Regions from separate parts of the Homo sapiens genome. Here all the other regions are linked to region 3. Evidence: promoter capture Hi-C in 16 types of primary human blood cells and fetal thymus (Javierre and others, 2016). All regions are on one chromosome and are shown on one strand. The core of a region is centred on a gene start or on the middle of the fragment in contact, and the rest is flanking DNA. Distances in the headings are between cores, read along the strand shown. Region 1 overlaps KIF5C (kinesin family member 5C). Region 2 holds the start of LOC101928553 (a long non-coding RNA gene). Region 3 holds the start of EPC2 (enhancer of polycomb 2).

Region 1 (4,477 bases), core at 1,025-3,524, 300 kb after region 3:
AGGGTCAGCTTGTTCTGTTCCATCTCAATACTTAGAATACCCATGATTGTTGGAGCTCTAGGGAGGCAGATTTCGACCCCTGTGAGGAGAACTCTCCAACCCTTATAGCTGCCCCAAGTGCTGCCTGCTACCTAGAGAGGTAGTGAGTTCACTGTTATGTTGTAAAAGAGATTCAGGCATTGGTTTCCTGACTGGTCTAGGCTCTTTAAGTCTCTTCTACCCAAGACTCTCTGATTCTGTGGTCCAGAACTGTAATTCTCAACATTTTCTCTATCTGAGCAATGTATCAGATGATATTCATGTATATAGCAACTTTCATAGGTGAGCCTATTCCTGGATGAAATGTTGGTCAAGCTCCACTTCTTTTTCTCTTGCTTAAAACATGCACACATACCTGAAAGAATGTAAGACAGATATTCTTATAGTAGTAGCATCTCTCATTTACGTTATTCACTCTGTTTCTGAAGCTGTTTTTAATCACAAATTATTTATGGCATACCTGATAATCCATTTTGATGCCTTGGTTTGGAACTGCTAATCTAAAAAAAAATTGCTATTATTCTTATCATTCTGGTAAGGTTTTTCTTTATTATTGCAATAAAATATACTTAATATGAAATTTGCCATCTTAACCATTTTAAAGTGTGCATTTATGTGATGTTAAGTACCTTCACAATGTGTGCAATGTCACCACCTTCCATCTCTAGAACTTTATCTTCTCCAACCAAAACTCTGTACCCAATAAACACCAATTCTTTATTCTCCTCTTGCTCAACCTACTTTATCTCTATGAATTTGACTGCTCTAGGTACCTCATGTAAGTGGAATCATAAAGTGTTTGTCCTTTTGTGACTTATTTCACTTAGCATAATGTCTTCAAGTTTCATCCATGTGGTAGCAAGTGTCCTTCCTTTTTAAGGCTGAACAATATTCCATTGTATGTATATACAACATTTAAAAAATTCGTTTAACCATTAATGGACGCTTGGGTGGCTTCCACATTTTGGCAGTTGTGAATAATGCTGTTATGAACATAGGTGTGCAAACATCTATTTGAGTCCTTGATTTCAATTCTTTTGAGTATATATGCAGAAGTGGAATTTTCGGATCTCATGGTAATTCTACTTTCAATTTCTTGAGGAACCGCTACTATTTGCTATTATTACGATTTTCTATAGCAGCTGTACCATTTTCTATTCCTAACAGCAGTACATCAGAGTTTCCATTTCTCTATATCCTTGCCACTTGTTATTGTTATTATTTTTATAATAGCCATCCAAATGGTGTGAAGTGCTGTTTCATTGTGGTTTTGATTTGCATTTCCCTAATGATTAGTGATGTTCAGCATCTTTTCATGTGCTTATAGGCCATTTGTATATCTTCTTTGAGGAATGTCTATTCAAGGTCTGTATTTATTTTTTAATCAGGTTAATTTGTTGTTGTTGACTTGGAGTTCTCTATGTATTCTGGACATCAATCCCTTATTAGATATATGATTTATAAAATTTTCTTCTATTCCATGGATTGCTTTTTTACACTATTGATAGTGTCTTTTGATATAAAAGTTTTTAATTTTGATGAAGTGTCTATTTTTATTTTGTTGCTTGTGCTTTGGGTGTCATATCCAAGAAATTATTGCCAAGTCCAATGTCATGAAGCTTTTCTCCTGTGTTTTCTTCTAAGAGTTTTATAGTTTTAGTTTTTATATGTAGGTATTTGATCCTTTTGGAGTAAATTTTTGCATGTACTCTAAGGTAAGGGCCCAACATTAATATATTTTTTGCATGTAGCTATCCAGTTTTTCCAACACTATTTGTTGAAAAGACTGTTCTTTCCACATTAAATGGTCTTGACACTCTTGTTGAAAATTATTCAACCATATATGTGAGGATTTATTTCTGGGCCCTTTATTCTCTTCTGTTGATTTATATGTCTGTCTTTATGTCAATACCACACTGTTTTGATTCCTGTAGCTTTGTAGTAACTTTTATTTTTTATTTTTCCATAGGCTATTGGGGTACAGGTGGTATTTGGTTACATGAGTAAGTTCTTTAGTGCTAATTTGTGAGGTTTTGGTGCACCTATCACCCGAACTGTATGCACTGCACCCTATTTGTAGTCTCTTATCCCTCACCCTACTCCCACCCTTCCCCTCAAGTCCCCAAAGTCCATTATATTGTTGAAGTGTGAGACCTTCAACTCTGTTCTTATTTTTCAAGATTGTTTAGGCTATTTGGTATCCCTTGAGATTTCATATAAATTTTAGGATGGATTTTTCTGCTTCTATAAAATATGTCATTGAAATTTTGATAGAGATTGCCATGAATCTGTAGATTGCTTTGGGTAATACTGACAGCTTAATGATATTAAGTCTTTCAATCAATCCCTTTATTTGTGTCTTCTTTCATATCTTTCAGTCATGTTTTGTAGTTTCCAGTGTACAAGTCTTTCTCTTCTTTGGTTAAGTTTATTCCTAAGTAGTTTATTCTTTTTTTGCTATTATAAATAAGGTTGTTTTCTTAATTTTTTGGGTTGTTCATTGTTAGTATATAGAAATGCAACTGATTTTTTACATGTTGATTTTGTATCCTACAGCTTTGCTGAATTAATTATTAGTTCTAACAGTTTTTTAAAAATGAATCTTTAGGGCTTTTTACATATAATCTGGTAAGATGGTTTTGAGAAATGATTGCTGGTGAAGGCTGAATGGGATGGTTGCTGGGGTCTCTGTCTGCTTGGCAGACAAAGACGAGGATTTGCAAGGATTTTTATTTCCAGTACCCCATCTTAATGAAGCATATTTAATTTTTGAAACCTTCTTTGCTGTTAGCATAGGTTGTAGAAGTGTATGTCTTAATCCTTCCTTAGGAAAGTCTTAATCCTTGCTTAAGAAAGCTTATGATATTACTGATAAGGCAAGGCTTATGCACATGACTAAGATAGACTACATCATGTATTAATCATGATGAAGTCTGAGGAATTTAAAGTGAGGCAGGGGAGGAGGTAGTGAATTCTTCAAGGGGAAAGTCATGCTGGAGTAGGAATTTAGAGGATGGGGCTTCAGGTAGAGCTAGAAAATCTGATATCTTAAACTGTTGACTAAGATTTTTAGATTAACTTCTTTGCTCCTTGAAGACATTTAAAATCTTGTATTTCTAGAATGAGCATTGTTTTTCAGAAGAAACAGGGGTCTCAGATAATTTTTAGAATTGACTGGACTTACTTCAATGAAATGGATCTATTAGGCATGACTTGTTATGCTTTTTAAATGAGAGGATTGCTACCTAAACCTACATGTTCTTTGTAGAGCAGTAAACTATTTTCCTTTTCAGACATGAATGAACACAGCTCTAGAAGTCACAGTATCTTCCTGATAAATATTAAACAAGAGAATGTAGAGACTGAAAAAAAACTCAGTGGGAAACTTTATTTGGTTGATTTGGCTGGGAGCGAAAAGGTAATTTGTTCTTTATTTGTATTATCTATAATTTTCCCCTTTTATTTGCTTCATTGTGCAATGGTATAATTTTTATGCTTTTCTATTTTCCTGCTTTAAAGAGCTTTTAAAGTTTCTGAGGCTCTGCCAAGGTGTTATTACATTTAACCCTTTGTCCCTGCTTTCTTTTCTGGTCCTGAGGTCTCCTATTGGTGTCACAGGCAGGTGCTTTGCATGCCAACTCTGATTTATCCCTGATGGGCCCTTATGATGATATGAGGCAACAGTTGGTTTGACTTAGCCTGTGGCAGAGGCAGCTGCACACATGTGGGAGGGATATGAACTTCTGAGAAAAGAGAAAATCCCATGTTGTACCCGACTCTAATAGGCCAGGAACGAGCTTTGCCATTGGAATGTGGCAGTCCTGCCTCTGCAGGTTTGTTTTGCTGATAGAAGGTCTGGAACCTGGGGCGCTCCCTGCATTCCCTGGTTCTCCCAGCAGTAGGCATGGGCTGACGGTGTCCCATGTGGAAGGCCTTGGCTCTCTCATGAAGTGTGGCCTGTAATCAGCCTCAGCGGCAAGCCTTTACTGTTCTCTGGTTTTGTCCGGATTCTCTTTTGTCGTCTACACCCTGACCCATGCCCTCCCAGGCCCTGGCTGGGGCTGTACTCCAGAGCAATAGGCTTCCCAGAATCTCCAGTCTCACTTCCATAGCACCAGTGGAGGCTTCTGCTGCCACACCCTGTCTGGAGGCACTGACCTCCCTCGAGCAACATCATAGAGCAAGGCCATGTGCACAATGCCCTCTGGCCTCCATCATCACTGACATCATGCTGATTGTCCCCATGAAGGCCAGCCTTGAAGCTTGGTCAGTCTCCCTAACTGTATGATTGATCCCCACTTATTGCACTACATCACTGAGTTCCCGTATGCCAAGTTATGGCCACTTACATCCACGTGAGTAATGGTTACTTGGATTGTCCTCTAGTATGCATTTGTAAAACCTGAGCAGAAAGTCATCCGGGTATTTCTAGTTGGGA
Region 2 (4,498 bases), core at 1,376-3,875, 280 kb after region 3:
TAACTTGAGACCCAATATGTAGTGAGCTATAAAGAAAACCATCTAGCAGAATAAAATCAGGCGCTGACATGATATGACTAACAGACATTTCTAGGGTACCATAAATATGTATGATCATACATACATGCCTTATTCTCCCTTAAAAAGGAATTGATGAAGGTCTGATTGGATTTCACAAATATCCACTGAGGCTAGTGTGAGAAGTGGCCATGTATTTCAGAATCAGTAAGCTAAAACATAGAGGTACAAGAAAGAACTCCTTGGAACAGATGATCAAGTATAGCTGAGGTATCTCTTGCCATGAGTAACCCTATTTAAATCAAGATTGGGAGGCGGTGCTGTGGAGCCCTTTTTTTCTAGAGGCTAATAATTAAATCAGATGATTTCCGAAGAGCACCATAGTCCCCGTGATTCCTGATAATGGGTGGACCAAGGAGCATTCCTTTCAAGTCCATCTAAACTCTTAATGATTTGGAGCATCTGGGAGGCTCCATTTAACTCGATGGCTTTATTCTCTCTCTGGTTTTTCATTCCCTACCACTTCACTGGGTTAAAAAAAATATATTTTAAATGTTTGTTTGTGGAGTCCTGGCATCTCTCATGCTCCCATCTTTGTCTGGTGTTTGTTTTTCAAAATTTTGCTTGAAAAAGCATGTAGAATTCTCCTCCATTTCTTCTCAAAGAGGTTGTAGGGTTTCTGACTACCAGCACAGTAAATGGGAAGGCTCCTTTGGACGCCTAGGAATTAAACACCATGGTAACTGGATGCTATTATTGAAGTACTGTAACTATGTCCCAGCCTACAGAAGCCACACCAATCATTTGCCTTCCAAATTAACTAGATACAGATGATCCAGATGCTAGAGAAGGGGAAATTTCTTGTTTTCCAGTTCTGATTCCTTTAAAATTCATTCATTCAGTTGTTTCTTTTAATCATTCATTTCTGTAAGTAGTAATAAGTACTTACCGTGGGGTAAGCAGTGCTGGGACTGGAGTCGCCATGCTATGTAAGACTGTCTGCAAGGAGCTTTGAGTACAGGGAAAGAGACAGATGTGTACATAATCATCACACACATAGGCATTATGTACTTTAGAAAGGGTGTATGCAAAATGCCACGGGAACACAGAAGAATGTCACTTGTATTGATTTTGATTGGGAGAGGGAGTGGAGAATTAAAGAAGGTTTCTCTGAAAGGTTGGGTCCTGAGGACTATAGAATATAGGAGGGTTGTACAAGCAGAGGGGATTTCAAAAGTAAAAGCATAAACACACAAATTCTGCTTGGACAACTTGGAGCGGCACAGGGTGCAGAGTGGCATTATGGGAGATGAGGCTGGGACATTTAGGCTGGAGCAATTTGATGGCAATGGATGGACTTTATCCTGCAGACAATGTGGACCCAATGAAGAGTGTTAAGCTTAGGATGACATTATCAGATCTGTTTTGTTATTATCTTATATATGACTCTGAAGAAAAAAAATATTTTTAGCTGTGACTTATCAGGCACTGTCTATATACTTGACATATGTTGTTGCATTTTAAATCATAACAACTTTCTGAAGGGTGAGCATTATTTTCCTCATTGTACAGAAGAGGAATTTGAGGCTCAGAGAAGTGAAGTAACTTGGCCAGGTTGGTTCGGGGGCCATGGACTGGGACTCAAGCCTGGGCTTGTCAGACTGACTGACTGATATTCTTCTGTACTCCCCTGCCCCCCTTTCCTGGTGGGCACACAGCTAGCATTTGATGACAATTATTTTATGAGTGGTCCCTGTTCTGTCAGGCCATATGGACTATTATCTAAGCATTGCAAAAGACAGGGCTAGGAATGGTGTGGGAGGAGGGTAGAGAAGAGGGGACAGGGATGGTGGCTCCTACACCTTGTGATGGCCCTGGTGGCCTGCCAGTGATGAGGTGCGTTTCCATTCTGAAGATGCAGCATGCCCTTGCCTGGGCACAGGGACTGCCCTTTAGGCTGGCCAGCCGGCATGCGGGCTGGCCTCAGGTAGTCAGCAGGACCGCCTCATCATCCTCTGATTATGGCCTACCTGAGTGGTTTGGTGACTGGTGAGGATGGCCTGTCAGCCACCATCACCAGAAACCCTACAGGCCCCCATTTCCCCTGGAGAGTCGGTAGGAAGCCCCATGCCTCCGTAGGACTACTGATGGGTAGGTATGATCACATCCTCCCCCAATTCTAATCTGAAGATGGCACTAACTCTTTTGCTTTAGCAAGACCTGGATTCAGAACTGAGCAAATGGGAGGCAAGGAGCATTTTAAGTATCTACTGCTATCCTTCCTCCTCCCCTGGGAGATGAGAAGGCTCTGGGCACCTGCAGTGGAAGCTCCTTCTGGGGTTCATGCGGCTGCGGGATGGAAGAGTGCTGTGGCCCCGGGGTGCGGCGGGCTATGCTGTACCAGTGGAGGTCACATCACACCAGGCACTAACACAAAGAAACTTTCTGTCTGCGGAGCGTGGCTGGCATGTGGAAACATTGTTTCTGCAGAGACTCTAAAACAAATGCATTCCGTGGGCCCAGGAGCGGGCACTGGACGTGATGAAAGTGCCTTTTGTGGGCGCTTCTGTGGGAGTCGGATGGAGGTTGGCGTGGCCCCCGCAGTGCGGAGCGCGGCCTGGCCTTTCCTGCTACGGCTCCCCCTCTGCCTGTGGTCGCGGTGGCCATAGAAACGCGCTGGGCTCCTGCTCCACTTCCTCTCTCTGCCTTCCCTCACCAGCAAATCAAAACATAGACTGAGCAAACAAACAACAAACAGAAAAGAAGCCCCCAAAACCTGGAGTTTCGAAGAAAATAGAGAACACTGGCTTCAAAGGGCCTTTTCGTTTAAATTACCTTCTAGTGCAGCAGGGAGCCGATAGAGGGCGACGTCGGCTCCCTTCGACCTTGATCGCTGGAGAGAGGTTCTGCAGCAGTGAATGAACTGTAACGTGATTGTAAATACTTTCAGTACTTTCAGGGCCGTGATTGTAAATACTTTCAGGGCCGAGTGGAGTTTGTTCTGGTGGGGTTTTATGTGTTCTCCTTTTCTTACAAAAAAAGAAGGAGAAAAAAAATAGTGTTCAGTGACGAAATGGCAGCAAGAAACAGATTCTCCAAGTACAGTCTTGCACGCTCCTCAGCTCCTTAGTCCAAAACAAGTGAAGCCACGGACGAGCTCTGGTTTTCAGGTGCTTGACCCAGTCCTTACTGGCAGGAGTTTCATGAGCAGCGATGGAGTAAGAGTTAGTGGGATTGTGCCTTCTGTTTAGTGATGGACCCAGAGGCGTGGATGAGACCCGGGAGGCCTCGGGTGTGGCCTAATTCAGGAGGAAGTTGAGCTCTGAGCTGTTTCCTTGGGTGTGGCCGGTTGCTCAGTACCACCTCCCTGGGGCCTCCTGCGTGGGAACATCGGCCCTTGCAGGGTGGCTAGCAGAGGTCAGGATGGCTGGACCCCTGGCCCTGGCAACTTCGGTGCTGTTCTAACACCTAGGCCGGTGGGTTCCAGAGTGTTTCATACACAGAGGCTTAAGACAAGGAAAGCCCTTTCAGGGTGTGTGTGTGTGTGTGTGTGTGTGTATAGGGGGGATGGTTAATTTCTAATAAATGGTAATTTCGAATAAATGGAAACTGTGATATTGTGATGTAGCCAGCATTCCAATAGGCTGGAGTTTTTTGTGTTATGAATATGGCATTTTTAAAGTTTGACCTAAGGGTGGGACCTTTTTCCTTTGGGTCCCTCAAAGCATATCATATTCATGTTAGTGTAGAGGTGCTCTGTCTGCTCTGGCCTAAGGAATCTTTTCTTGGAGTAAGTTGGCATTTTTGTGAAAACTGAAGCTTGAACCTCCAAACCTTACACTGACTACTTCAAGTTTTTGCTTCCCACTGTTAGCAGGGGAGCCATTAGCCGAAATCTGATATGTATGAACATTCTCTCTCCCTCCTCTTGCTCCCCCTCCTCTCTCTCCCTGTCCCTCCTCTCCCACCAACCCCCAATATAGCTTGATACAAACTCTTGAGGGCTGCTAGAATTAAAAAAAAATCCTGCCACTTAATTTTTCTTTTCTTACCTTCCTAAAATAACATATTGCTTTTTTGTTCTTATCCCAGTTCACACTTCAACAACCTCAGATCAGTCAAATGTTTATTAAAATTTTTTTAAAAAACATAACAAATCAGAATTGATATAGAAAAAAAATTCAAAAAAGCAAACCTATCAAAGCAAAACAAAAACAAACCAGCATCATAAAATTCAGAGAACCCCCTCTACCATGCTCCCAAAAGAAAAACTCTATTTAGAGCCTGAAGTAGATGGAGCTGATTGCCTGGCTTGGTTTTTTACATGACCCTGAATAGGACACCTCAGTGTGGGGTCCTTCTCCCTGCCTCTACAGCTTGTGCAAATGAAGACTTCCTCCCCTTATTCGGAATGGAGGATCAAGGATATTAATGATGCATTGTTCCTCTTCCAGTGATATTTGTGAGGATGAAGGAGGAA
Region 3 (4,374 bases), core at 600-3,099:
AGCTCTGGATGACTCATTTCTTCAACTATTGCTTTTTTCTTCCCTTTCAGGCTTGAACCCAGTGCTGACCCCCTCCCAAGAACTTCTTGTTCTTGCTTCCAGAGGATTGGAACTGTTCCAGGGGTAGCACTTAGAGAGCAGGACATGCCCATAAGCTTGAGGAAGGTACTGCTTACAAGAAATGAGTCACAGCAACTCCATTGCTTCCAACAACAAAGTGGATGAAAAACACTCAAGCCCCACTAAACAATACTCGGAGTTTTGCTGCGACAGACTGGTTAGACTATTTGGACACTACCATGAAGACTATATCCACCATTCTGCCTTCAAAGGAGGAGACTGCAGAGAGAAAAGGGGAAGAGGAACAGGAGGAAAAAGGGGGAGGGGAGGAAGTGGAGGAGGGGAAGAAGGACGTAATAGAGGAAGAGATATAGTTTTATTGTCACATAGAAATGACAGTAGGAATCAATTTTTTCACTGTTGGTCTTTAGGAAATCATCTGACTTTCTCTGAGTTAGAGTATGATCGATTATTAGAAAATGGTAAAATGTGTTAAAAACTCTCTTTGTACGGTTTTGTGAGAAATGTGTAATGCTTAAAGACTAACCAAGAGCCTCTTGGCTAAACCAGGTTGATGTCAACAATAGCTAGTACTTATTTGAGTCACCTTGATTTTCCCTCCTCTTGAGAACTTTCTCTAACCAGTTTAGGCTGCAGTCATGCCTCCTTTCCTTTCTCTGAACTCTCACAATTATTGCCTAGATCTCGTTTGGTAATTAATCATGTGCTACTTACTGCCTGTGTCATCTCTTGTATTGTTTTCTTAAAATATTTACACTTTTTTTTCGGTTGTCACTTATCTTTCCAGCTGTCATTTTCTTCAACTATTTACGTCTCTGTTACTCATCTTTCCAGCCATCCTGGCATCCCATTAAGGTGAAAGCTCTCTGAGGCAGGAACCTTTTCTCAGATTTCTTCGAGTCTTCCACAGCACCCCACATTTGACACACATCTGCTACTTCGCAAATGTGTGCTGCCTTGGCTAAATTTTTAGAAGCTGAACTTTTAGGAAAGCTACTATTTTTGAACTCAGAAAAATACCTACCATCCACTAAACAGCTGTACCGAAGTTTGGGTGACAGGGAACCTAAGTTCACTTGTTGCATCTGGCAGCCTCAAACCATGAACCCTCACTGCAAAGCGAGGATGAACGCGCTGCTGCACCTTGGAGAGCTCTTTCGGACAGGTACGGAGGGGAGGGCGTAGAAGAGGGCTGGCACCAGCAGCGCGGTCCAGTCCTCCGAACGGACTGATGGGACTGATGGGAGAGACCTCTTGCACCTCTCGGGGATGTGCGCCTCGGAGGATGCGAATTAGCTTGCGCACAGGGCGCCTTGGGGATAGCGCTGTCCAAGTACAGGCTTGGGTGATGGCTGGTGGGGTCCGGGTCGACATTTTCCCTTCCCGCTCCCGGACTTCTGCACACACGCGCTGCTCGGCGCAGCCGTCTTTGCCCGGCGCCTTCCTCCGGGACACCCAGCGAGAGGGGTGACCGGGCGGCGGCGGGAGAGGCGCACGCTCCCGGGCGCGGGCGAACTTGCGCACCTGGCACCTGCCACACAGCGAAAGCACCGGCCAGCGAGCGGAGGGGCGCCGCCCCCGCCCCCTCTCCCCGGAGCGGACCGAGACCGAGCACGCTCCCGCGGGCCGGCAGCGCCGCGGAGAGAGTGGGTGGGCAGGCGAGGGAGGGGAAGGGAGAGGAAGGAGGGAGGGAGGGAGAGGGCGAGGCGCGTTCCCGCGACGGGGGCGCGCTCTCGCGCGGGCTGCCGGGATCGCTCGCCGCCGCTGTGGTAATGTCCGCCATGTTGGCCATGGCGCAGGGAGCGGATCGGGCGGGCGAGCGGCGGATCTAGTGTGTGGAGGCGGCCGCGGGCGCGGGGGGCTGTTTTCGGGCGGGGTGGGCGCCCATGCTGTGGCCGGGGGCAGTGAGGAGGAGGAGGAGCGGGCCGGCCGCGCTGCACTGAGGAAGGAGGTGGAGGAGGCGGCGGGAGTCCTCCCCCCCTCCCCGCCCGCCCCGCCGCCGCCGCCCGGGCTGTTCCTGTAAGGCGGGGAGACAATGAGTAAACTCTCCTTCCGAGCGCGGGCGCTGGACGCCGCCAAGCCGCTGCCTATCTACCGCGGCAAGGACATGCCTGATCTCAACGACTGCGTCTCCATCAACCGGGCCGTGCCCCAGATGCCCACCGGGATGGAGAAGGAGGAGGAATCGGTAGGGACTCGAGTGTTTATTACCCCCCCTTCCCTCCTCCCCCCTCCCCTTTGTCAGTCGGGCCTCGCCATTCACAGAGCGCTTTACGCTCGCTGGAGGGCGCCGCTGCCGCTCTAACGCACGGGACTCTACGCCGGCGGAGTAGCGTAAACCCTCTCGGCCGGCGTAGCGCCCGCCCGCGGCCGCCATGTTGTTGCGTCCCAGTGTTGTGATTAGCTCGCAGCGCTGCTTACGCTGCCGTAAGGGGGCCTTGCCGTAAGCGGCGGCCGGGAATGGCGCAGGGGATGCGCTGGCCGCTCTTGGCGTACGGTCTCTGTTTACCTTTCCACCTCCCTCTCTCAGGCGCGGGGCTAATTAATGGCGTGGTATTATTTGGCTAGGCAAGATTATTATTTTTTCCACTTTTAACTTTGGCTTTGTATTGAGTTCTCTTTGAAATGACTGTGGAAGGGTGCTTTCAAAACAAACATCTTCCTCCCAGCAATGTAATCATCCTGGCTCCCCCGCCCGCGAAGGTGCAGCGGGATGAGGCGGTGCAGCACTGCGGCGGGGGAGGGCGGGGGCCACGACTACCGAGCGGGTCGTAGCGTCCGAGGGCCGCCCGCCGGCCAGTTCTGCCGACCCGAGCCGGGCGCGGGGCGGACGGGCTCTGCCTGCTCCGCCTGGACGGCCGTGCTCCGTGCGCAACGTTAGAGAGGAGCCGGGGATGCCCGGAAGCGAGCCGCCGGCGTTGCGTTGTCCTCGAGAATTGTCATTGCGAGGTGGTCCTTAGAAGTTGAGGACCTAGTGCATCTAAATTGGCAGTTGTAATTTTGATAATACAGCACCTTTTGGGAAAATTGCTGCTTTTCCTCCGATGGGTTAAATTTTGCAGACGGTTGGATTTCATCTGGCTTGACAGAGAGTGTTTATGACTCGAGTGGTGTTACTTGCGTGCGAAGTTCATAGTAACTGCACCCTCAAGAATTTCTTCAATGAACCTACAGTCCCGCCTTATTGTCAACCTCGGGTGTGTGTGGATTGGTTCTCTTGCTTCAGTGACTGTCAAAAGGAAGCTCGAGGTTTCAGTGATTGGTTTTCTCTTTTGACTATTAATATTGCAGGAAATGCTTTTATGCCTTCGATTGGCTGGTTGAGTTCTGACCTCATTATGTTACCCTGTTAATACTACTTTGCTCTTATTTAATCACATTTCTCTTTGATGTATAGTTACTTGAAAGTCTTACATTTTCAGTAGAAAATGCATATGGCCGTAGCATCGGGATGAACTTAACTGTGTGTGTACACACACAAATATGTAATAGATATATATACACGCACATACACATATATATTTGTGTGTGCATATATATAAATATGTTTATAATCAAAACCCAGCATTTATCCCTAAGGTTTAGAGCTGTGAGAACTTTTTTTTTTGTATGTGAGAACTTTTTTTTTTAATTTGTTTCTAACGACTCAGTTTTCCATGGGAAGGAAAATTAAAATAAAATCATATTATATACAATAGTTAATTACATTGAACCCTAATAAGCACAACTTTGGATATTTTTGCTATTTTGTGGGTCTTGATCCAAAGAAAGATGGCCTTAAAAGTACCAGTATTGTGTGTAATTACTTTGATCCTATTATTTTAGAACTTGAGTCAAATCTGTTCTAGGCCGGGCACGGTGGGTCACGCCTGTAATCCCAGCACTTTGGAAGGCCGAGGTGGGCGGATCATGAGGTCAGGAGTTCGAGACCAGCCTGGCCAGTATGGTGAAACTCCGTCTCCACTAAAAATACAAAAATTAGCCGGGCCTGGTGGTGCGCGCCTGTAATACCAGCTACTCGGGAGGCTGAGGCAGAAGAATTGCTTGAACCCGGGAGAAAGAGGTTGCAGTGAGCAGAGATCGTGCCACTGCACTCCAGCCTGGGGGACAGAGCGAGACTCCGTCCCCCCCAACAACAAAAAAAAGGAAATCTGTTCTAGAGTGAACAGTTAACTCCTGGAAGGTATATTACTTTTTGCAATCACCAACATACGTGGTCCTTAGTATGCCACATATGTTTTGGTATTTTAATTTAGTAAGATAACTTAGAGTAATTTTTTCATGCTTCATTAA

What was found. Contacts are between HindIII fragments. The CHiCAGO score rates a contact against its expected background, and 5 or more counts as called.
Region 1: a fragment that was not itself captured here is called in contact with the fragment with the promoter of EPC2 in region 3 in 3 of 17 cell types (M2 macrophages, total B cells and megakaryocytes); the score reaches 7.6 in M2 macrophages.
Region 2: a fragment that was not itself captured here is called in contact with the fragment with the promoter of EPC2 in region 3 in 4 of 17 cell types (naive CD4 T cells, total B cells, M2 macrophages and 1 more); the score reaches 5.7 in naive CD4 T cells.

The regions. Positions count from the first base shown.
Region 1 is chr2:148,943,567-148,948,043 of GRCh38, forward strand. It overlaps KIF5C (kinesin family member 5C), which reads left to right. Exons shown (of 26, transcript NM_004522.3): 8 at 3,333-3,457. Among named protein-coding and RNA genes, the nearest start is that of KIF5C-AS1, 51 kb to the left of the region's middle. The HindIII fragment of the contact is 1,237 bases long and covers 1,657-2,893 here.
Region 2 is chr2:148,923,936-148,928,433 of GRCh38, forward strand. All of the region lies in intron 2 of KIF5C (kinesin family member 5C), which reads left to right. It overlaps LOC101928553 (a long non-coding RNA gene), which reads right to left and starts at 3,314. Exons shown (of 2, transcript NR_187659.1): 1 at 2,854-3,314. RefSeq lists an enhancer at 2,064-2,688. The HindIII fragment of the contact is 2,420 bases long and covers 1,416-3,835 here.
Region 3 is chr2:148,642,902-148,647,275 of GRCh38, forward strand. It overlaps EPC2 (enhancer of polycomb 2), which reads left to right and starts at 1,850. Exons shown (of 14, transcript NM_015630.4): 1 at 1,850-2,269. The coding sequence starts at 2,117. RefSeq lists silencers at 1,504-2,083, 2,844-2,933 and enhancers at 1,923-2,427, 3,024-3,173. The HindIII fragment of the contact is 14,369 bases long and covers 154-4,374 here.